2 separate regions of the Homo sapiens genome follow, and region 1 is linked to region 2. The links are contacts of gene promoters, found by promoter capture Hi-C in human tissues and cell types (Jung and others, 2019). All regions are on one chromosome and are shown on one strand. Each heading gives the region's core, a stretch centred on a gene start or on the middle of the fragment in contact. The rest is flanking DNA. Distances are from core to core; before and after follow the strand shown.

Region 1 (4,596 bases), core at 42-2,541, 840 kb after region 2:
TAGAGTAGCTTTTGCCATTCAGAAGTTGTTCTCTGCCTTCAGATTCCAAGACCATTCTAGCGACAGCCTTTCAAACATGACCATGTATCTAATTAATAATATGGATTTTCTGTTGTAAGTTAAAGCCCAAATATAGCTTCAAAATTTGCTTGGCCAGGCACATTTAATAATACCTAAATGCCCCCATGTGTTAAATATTCATCCATTTTTTTCCATAACTGCTTACAATAAATATTGATGATCGTCTAACTTTGAAAATGGCTATGTACATGGAAGAATATTCATGTGTGTCTCACTGATTTTCCTGACAGCGCCAAATGGAGCAGGTAAGCCAATTTAACACAACCAATTTCCACTTTTGCGCAGACCAAATAGGAGAAGTTCTGTGGAAATGAATAATCAATCTCATACCATTATTAATAATAATATTTAGCTTACATACAGCTCTTTCCATCTTCTAAGCACTTCGGCAACATTAACAAATTTATTGTTAATACTCAAGGGAGGCCTTTTTGTAATGGGAATGAGAAACCAAAAGGGATGTAAATGGCCACTTAGGGCTGAGGGACAAGTGCAAAGCAGGAGAAACTGGTGAGTCCCTGTTCCCATGGGATTCCCTAAGCTCTTCAATATTGCGGAAGTGTTGCAAGCCTAGGAGGCAAGTCTAATTTTTAAATCTTAGTTTTAAAAGGTGTGTGCTGACCATAATAGAACTACATTTATTACTATTTTTTGAACACCCACTTTAGGCCAAACACTGCTAAGTGTTGGGAACATTAAAAGAAAACAGCTTCTATCCTGAAGAAACTTACAGAATAGTGAGGGAGAGGGAGACCTGAATCCCCCAACAGCCTGCAGTGGGATGAAGGCCCATCTGAGAGACACACAGAGAGGCACAGCTGCACCGAGGAGCACCCAGCACCCCATGAACACCTTCCCTGAGAAGGTGTTGCTCCAGCCGAGCCCTACAAGGCAGCTGAATTAGGAAGGGGGATTTGAGCAGGAGAGACATTCTAGAGAAAAGGAAAAACATGAAGCAAAGGCAGTATGGAAGAGAATTGTGTCTTCTGGGAACTATAAACACTTTAGCTGGACTGGAGTGAAGAATAAGACAATGAGATGCAGCCATTACAGCTGAGCAAAATCCTAAAGATGTCTCCAGTAATATCTCCCATCCCACATGCTCTTCTACAATGGGAGCTTGCCACCCTCCCCCATCTAGAGGCGGGGTTACATCCCCTCCACTTGAATCTGAGCAGGTTTATGACTGCTTTACAAATGCAGCAGAAGGAAGCGATGCTATGTGACTGCTGAAGCTAGGTCAAACGAAGCACTTTTCTGACTCTTGGAACACTGAACCGCCAGCTGAGAAGTCCAGCTGGCCTGAGGCCACCGTGCTGGTACTCAGGCCACCAGGCTACAAGGAGAGGTCGCAGGTGGGTGCTCAGGTCAACAGCCCCAGCTGAGATCCCAGCCGACAGCCAGCATCAACTCCAGATGTGAGTGATGACACTTCCAGATCATTCCAGCTCCCAGCTATTAAGCCGCCCCCAGCTTGGGAGTTTCCAGCAGAGACTCCAGACTCTGTGGAGCACAGGCAAGCCGTCCTCATTGTGTCCTGTCTGCATCCCGACTCACAGAATCCATGAGCATGATAAAATGGCTGACATTTGGGAGTGGTTTGTTACCTAGTAATAGTAACCACAACGCCAACACCGCAGATTTTTTTACTTTATTTTCAGTTAGTAGAGAAGCATTGAAGGATTTTCAGGCGGAGTGTGGTGTCATCAGGTTTTGTGTTCAGACGGAGGGGCAGGAACAGGTGGGTCCTGTGTGAAATGAGAAGACCATCTGGCCAGTGGTTTCTGTATCTCAGGCCTATGGATACTCTCAGATGAATCCAGGGCATCACCTTCCTGTCACTGCTGGCCAGTTTCCCTCTAGCTCAGTGATTTGTATTTCCGGTTCCACGGTAGGATCACTCCGGAGAAGCAAAAATATCCCATTTCTTGGGTCCCACCCTAGATCAATCAAGTATGAATGTCCGAGGAGGGGGATCTGACGTTGGATTTTTTTTTTTTTTTCAGAGTCTTGCTCTATCACCCAGGCCTGTAGTGCAGTGGCGCGATCTCAGCTCGGCTCACTGCAACTTCTGCCTCCCAGATTCAAGCAATTCTCCTGCCTCAGCCTCCTGAGCAGCTGGGACTACAGGAGCCTGCCACCACACCCGGCTAATTTTTGTATTTTTAGTAGAGACAGGGTTTCACCTTTTCGGTCAGGCTGGTCTCAAACTCCTGACCTCAGGTGATCCACCTGTCACGGCCTCCCAAAGTGCTGGGATTACAGGCATGAGCCAGCATGCCCGGCCTGGCATTGGATTTTTAAAGGGTCCCTAGATAATTCTAATGTGCATCCAAGGTCGAGGATCACTGAGAAAGTTGCTCGCTGACCATACAACTCAAACTGGAGAAAGTTGTTCATACTGCAGATCTGAAACTCTGTTGAAAACTAAACTTACAAACTGCAAAAATCAATATACCCTCCTACCTTCGTAGAAAAAGAAATGTCTAGACACTGGGGGCTGGTTACTGTAACAGAACCAAAGGAAATATATCAGACCTGAGGCCATATTATGAAAAAGATGTAAGGTCTTGAGGGTAAATTGATCAAAAAGGGAACACTGAGACTCTCTCATCAGAAGGATTGTCTGTTTATGAATAGAATAGAGAGCTCCTTTCTTTCAAGCAGAGCTTGGTTTGATGCAGACCTCTTCCAATAAACCACTTTCTTTTGCTCTGACGCTGCCCCAAACCAAAATGGGCCAATTACATAATCACTGCTCACGTCTAGGAAACTGGATAAAAAAGAGAAATCCTCCCCCGTGTGCCTGTAATTGGAGGGATGTGGGAGAGACAGGACCAGGGTCATAACATTGGAAAGTAGTGGGCAAATCAGGATGGTGTAGAAAGGGACTGGACAGAGGAGAAAGAAGTCATGATGCTTGGTGACCTTGGGCAGGCCTCATGGCCTCTCTGAGCTCCAATTTCCTCATTCATATAAGAAGGTAGGATGATTTGGAGGTCTCTTCTTCAGCTTGAAACTATGATGCTGTGGTTAGGTTCCAGAAACCTGTATATTTTTCTTTCTAAGTACAGTTCTGCCCCAGACTAGCCCTGAGTCCTAATGCACAGCACCTCATTCCTCTGTTTATTAACAATGTGTTTCTGATGCTTTGACACCTGGGGCCTTGCTGACCCTGGAGAAACTGCCCTTCCCGGAGACAGCCAATTTCTAGAGATAATAAAGAACTTATCTGCAAGCACACTTTTGATATGCAAACAAAACATTCCAGAGCTCACACCCCAACCACCTGCTTTATCAGGCTCTCGCCTTCTGGGCCATCATCCACCTGCTCTCATCACCCAGGGTCAGGTACCAGATGGCTGGGGACAACCTGTGTGACCCAGAGCCTGCTGAAATGCTGAAATGGTCAATCCTCAGCCTGCTTACCCTGCCTCACCCATTCCTTTTCCAGGGAAATCATGATAAAGCCTGTTGCCCAAGTCTTCCCCTAACCCCCTCTGCCTCCTGATCCACCCTGGTGCTTCCCCATGGGACCCTGTGTGGTGCAGCGTGCCTCCTTTTGGGAACTGTAACAATTATCTTCTCAATAGTGGTTGTCTTCTGATCTGTTGGCCGTAACATACCCGAAAAATTAAACCTATATTTAAAACACTGTGAACACAGCATTCTCACTTGTAAATCAAAGATGGGAATAGCAACCTCCCTTCCAGTGATTATGAGAGCAATCAGTGATCACGGTAACATAAATACAGTCCACTAAAGCACATGTGCTTGGAAATCACAGAGACATTTCAGATCAATACATAAAAGCACCTTTAGAAGTCCATGTATTGTGATGGGTTGATCCAGGCCCCCGTTCCCTTGACCTTAGAGCTCTGCAGATCACAAAAGAAATTGTCTGCAGTGTCACAGCTGATTGGGATAGAAATTGGGAAAGCAAATACAAAGTCCTCTGGCATGACCCAGCAATCATGGCAGTGTTGAATTGAAGAAATTGACATTAACCCCTCCAAACAAACACTCCATGCCCAATGCTACATATTCCCATCAACACAACAGTCCATTTTCCCTGAATTTGTATCATAATGGTGCACTGATATTATATAAAAGGGACCTACAGTCTCATTTCAGTCTCCCCATTTTCGTAACTTGCACAGCACGTTTAATTTCACAGCTTTTAGTTTCATGACATTCAAATACCAACAATTGATTGGGGGGAAGGGAAAGACCCATGTTTATTGGAAATATCAGTCACTGTAAAAAATCCTGAAGGAAAACTTGCCACATTGTAAAAGGTCACCAGATAAATAACTGCCTTCTGAATTGGGATGATTCCTGTTGTCATTAAGCCCCAGCAGCGATCTAATACACTTTAATACTTCCACTAAATTCTGGGAGACAACTTTGCAATCACAGTCACATAGACAATTAAAGCTAAGCAATTGGTGCCTGAGTCAGAAGGCTTTTTCTTTTTTCCCCCCATTTTTAATGCATAAGATGAAACGATACCCA
Region 2 (4,186 bases), core at 784-3,283:
TTGTCGGCAACTTACTCCTTTCCTAGACTTGATGATAAATTAAAAAAAGAAAAAAAGCAAGCAAACAAGGTCCCTCCAGTAGTCCTCTTCACTCCCCACAAACCAAACCAAACATCAATCCCCCAATTTTTTAACAATGAAAGTTAATTGAAGGAATGTATGAATGGACAGCAAAATTTCTATCGATAATTACTCAACATTTTCAAAACAAGAAGCATTTTACAACTACTATCATATATGTTTATCGCATGATTTTAGAAAGTTCTGTTGGGGCCATCAATACACCATCCTAAAAAATAAGCAGGTTCAATTTTCATTTGTTTCCATGCTCCAAACTTTGTAAAAAAAAATTCCAATCAAAAGAATTAAAGGCAAATTTTTTAGTCTACCGGGTAACTATTATAGTCTATTGCTTTAAATCTTTCCTCAAAGAGAACTAAAGCCTAAACTGACCTTCTGATTTGACTTTTTGGTTCTAGATGTTTATATCATGAACTCCCCAAAAGGACAAAATTCGCCCTTCAGCACACACACCTCAGGTGTTTTTATGTGCTTCCCCTAGTGACTAGAATAAACATCTACACAACAGCCCGGAACGTGTTGCATGGGGCTTTTGTTTTCTTTCCAGGGTTTCACACGAACTCACTTCTACTAACTCACTTCTACAATTCCCTATGTAGGGTAAACTTTGGAAATGAAACTCACTGACAAACGTTCCAGTACATTTAAGCTGGGGATATCGTATTCTTTGTGATGTTTGTATTTCTCCGACCCCAAATATATTAATAAAAACTTTTTTCTGAGCCCTCTTCGGTGGGGGATAGAGTGAGAAGAGAAATGGGAGAGGGCCTGTTAATTTTCAGGTCATCTTTTAAGTTACAGAACAGTATATACTGACTAGTTATCTTAAAAATACTGAGCCAATGAATTCGTTCAGCTATGTAAGATTAAAGAAAGACAGATTTTTTTTTTTTTACCGTAAAAACCTGTAAAGGAGTGGTCAGTTTTTAGATGAAAGGTCATAGGAAGAAGAGCATTAAAAGTTGAGATATAAAGAAGAGAAAAAACCCAACATCGAGGAATTAGAAAAATAAGGCGTGACAGCATTTCCACATTCATTTCGAAGTGAAAGGAAAGTCGAAGGGACATTAAGGGAAAAGGGCTCCTTGCGTAGTTTCCCCTCACAGCTCTCGTCTTAAGAACGCTTAAGGGTCGGTGCGGTCGTTGACTAACCACTTCATTAGGCTCGTCCCACCTTCAACCTCAAGGCTTTCGCCTTTTTAGACGCAACGCCGCCGGTTCCAACAGAGACGCGGCCGCTCACTGAAATAGAGAGCCAAGGAGACACAGGCCCCAGCTAGTCCCACGCCAGCTTCTCCCCGCCCGGAAAGCAGCCCCGCGCACTTTCGATCCCGAGACCCTCTACGATGCTCGGGGTCGCCAGAAATGCCACCGCAGGAAGCACCTACCACTATCCGGACGGAGGGGAGCTCCCTGCCGCCTCCTCCCGCCCAACCGCGACGGGGACCCACACCTCGGAGCAGACATAAGGAAGCCTCAGGGGTGGGGAGAAGGGAGGAAGCAATGCGGGGGCGGGGAGGGAAGAGGACCCAGAAGTCCAGGTATCAGTCAGCCTCCAAAAAAGGGGGAGGGGTGTTATCCGTGGTGTTTGGGGAAGGAGTGGAACCCAGAAGCCATCTTGGGATGGGAGGAATCAATCGCGATGGCTCCAGAGGTTGCTCCTCGCGGGACTACCCGCAACCCCGCCCGACCGCGCTTGTTCCCGTGAAACCCCGAGCATTGGGCCGCCGCCTAGACGGCTCCCGCGGCTTTGTACTCACTCTGCCCTCGAAGTTGTTTTCCTCCACATCACTCATGTCGACGAGGCGCTCCCCAGAACTAAATAAGAGACAAGTCTCGGCTCGAGGGCCGATGGCCTAATTAACCCGCTGACTGGACCGTGGGGAAGAGGAAAGAGTCGGCAACCACAGCCGCTCCACTCCACTCCCACTCGGTCGCAGGCTCCAGCAAAATGGCGCCGGCGCCGCCAGAAATCTCCTGGCCTCCTCAGAGCACGACGTAAAGGGGGCGGGCGTCTCTGTGACGTCACGAGGCTCCACCTCCCGCGAGGCTTTGTGTCGGCTGGGCCTGGAGCGAGGGTGGAGGTTGGCGGGCGGCCTGCGCTCTCAACCTGGGCGCCTTGGAATCGCGGTCCCGTGCTGTCCTCCAAACTTCAGACTCACCTCGGACGCGTCAACCTCTTTGAAGACTTTTCAGTCGCCAGATGAGCCTTATATGACCTTAGCCCCTTTAAATATTGTCCAAGTGGATTCTGATGTAAGGGAACAAAACATTGGAAGCGTTTTTTTATGTTTGTTTATTTTTTGAGTCAGGGTCTCGCTCTGTCACCCAAGCTGAAGTGCAGTGAAGCGATCACTGCTCACCACAGCCTCAAACTCCCGGGCTCAGACGATCCTCCCACCTCAGGCTCCCGCGCGCGCCACCACGCCCGGCTAATTTTTTTCTTTTTTGGGACGGAGTCTCACTCTGTTGCCCAGGCTGAAGTGCAGTGGCGCTATCTAGGTTCATTGCAACCTCCACCTCGCAGGTTCAAGCAATTCTCCTGCCTCAGCCTCCCCAGTAGCTGGGATTACAGGCATGCACCACCACGCCCGGCTAATTTTTGTATTTTTAGCAGAGACGGGGGTTTCACCATGTTGGACAGGCTGGTCTCAAACTCCTGACCTCAGGTGATTTGCCCGCCTGGGCCTCTCAAAGTGCTGAGATTGCAAGGGTGAACCACCGTACCCGGCCCACCCGGCTAATTTTTGTGTGTTTTGCAGAGATGGGGTTTTGACATGCTGCCCAGGCTGGTCTCGAATTTGTGGACTCAAGCGATCTGCTCGCCTCGGCCTCCCAAAGTGCTGAGATTACAGGCCTGAGCCACCGCGCCCGGCTGGAATCGTGTATATATAACAGGCTTTTGGGGGGCACGTTGTCAGCTGACTGTATTACTTTTCTTCCATATTTGCCCTGTGTAATGTCGACGTAGTACATGCACAGATGAGGTTATGATGCAAAGCCGCTGCTCCTTGCCTCGTGTCCCTGCTCCAGTTCCCCCTCCTAGAGACAGCCGTGTAGTTTTTTTTTTATAATGCTTAGCTCCCTACTAGTTTTTTTGACTTAGATATTTCCATAAAGCTTCACAGTGAAGACCTCCCAAATCTGTCAACTTGGTTCCCAATCATAGTAATAATCTCTGAGATGAGTTTTACTTGTGTAATGCAACTTTAAAAATTAGTTTCATCTTAAATTTTTTTCCTACAGTGCTTTGTAGTAAAAAGATTGACATAGACTTTCAACTATAGTTCTATGGTAGGAAAGTTCATCTGGCATTATTATGAAGATTGCTACCACTGGGGGCAAGATTTCAGCATTTGAATGTCAGTTATTGATAGGGATAAACTTAAATGACATCTGGCTCTTAGAAAAGATGTTGAACTTGGCTGGGTGTGGTGGCTGACGCCTGTAATCCCAGTACTTTGGAGACCCTAGGCGGAAGATCGCTTGAGGCCAGAAGTTCGAAACCAGCCTGGTCAACATGGTGAGCCCCCATCTCTACAAAAGAAATTATTATTATTATTATTGAGACGGAGACTTGCTCTGTCACCCAGGCTGGAGTGCAGTGGCGCGATCTCGGCTCACTGCAACCTCCACCTCCGGGTTCAAGTGATTCTCCTGGCTCAGCTTCCCGAGTAGCTGGGATTACAGTGCGTGCCACCACACCCGGCTAATTTTTGTATTTTTCGTAGAGATGGGGTTTCACCATGTTGGCCAGCGTGGGCTGGAACTTGTGACTTCAGATGATCTGCCCGCCTCAGCCTCCCAAAGTGCTGGGATTACAGACGTGAGCTGCCACGCCCAGCCAGGTTGATACCATTTGAACCACTGATCAATCTTAGTACCATTAAAAGTGAGATAACCAGATACGAGATACCTCATGATGTGATGCAATAGAAAATACCCAGTTCCTCCTGTGAAGTATTCCTGATCCCTCAAATTGAACTCAAATCTAATTAAACCTTAGATCTAGCCAACAGTTTACAGGAAATACAAGAAAGGGAAAAATAAAAACACCGAGATGAAGTAATCAACTTCCACAGGACAAATAACCACATTCCCCAAC

What was found. Contacts are between HindIII fragments. The study calls those that stand out against the background at their distance.
Region 1: a contact is called between a fragment that was not itself captured here and the fragment with the promoter of TRA2A in region 2, in 1 of the 25 tissues and cell types used here (mesenchymal stem cells).

Annotation. Positions count from the first base shown.
Region 1 is chr7:24,371,938-24,376,533 of GRCh38, forward strand. All of the region lies in intron 1 of LOC107986777 (a long non-coding RNA gene), which reads right to left. Among named protein-coding and RNA genes, the nearest start is that of NPY, 90 kb to the left of the region's middle. The HindIII fragment of the contact is 8,312 bases long and covers 1-4,596 here.
Region 2 is chr7:23,529,948-23,534,133 of GRCh38, forward strand. TRA2A (transformer 2 alpha homolog) reads right to left here and starts at 2,034. Exons shown (of 8, transcript NM_013293.5): 1 at 1,842-2,034. The coding sequence starts at 1,877. RefSeq lists enhancers at 1,092-1,662, 1,663-2,232, 1,774-1,823, 1,844-1,893, 1,904-2,123 and 3 more. The HindIII fragment of the contact is 6,699 bases long and covers 1-4,186 here.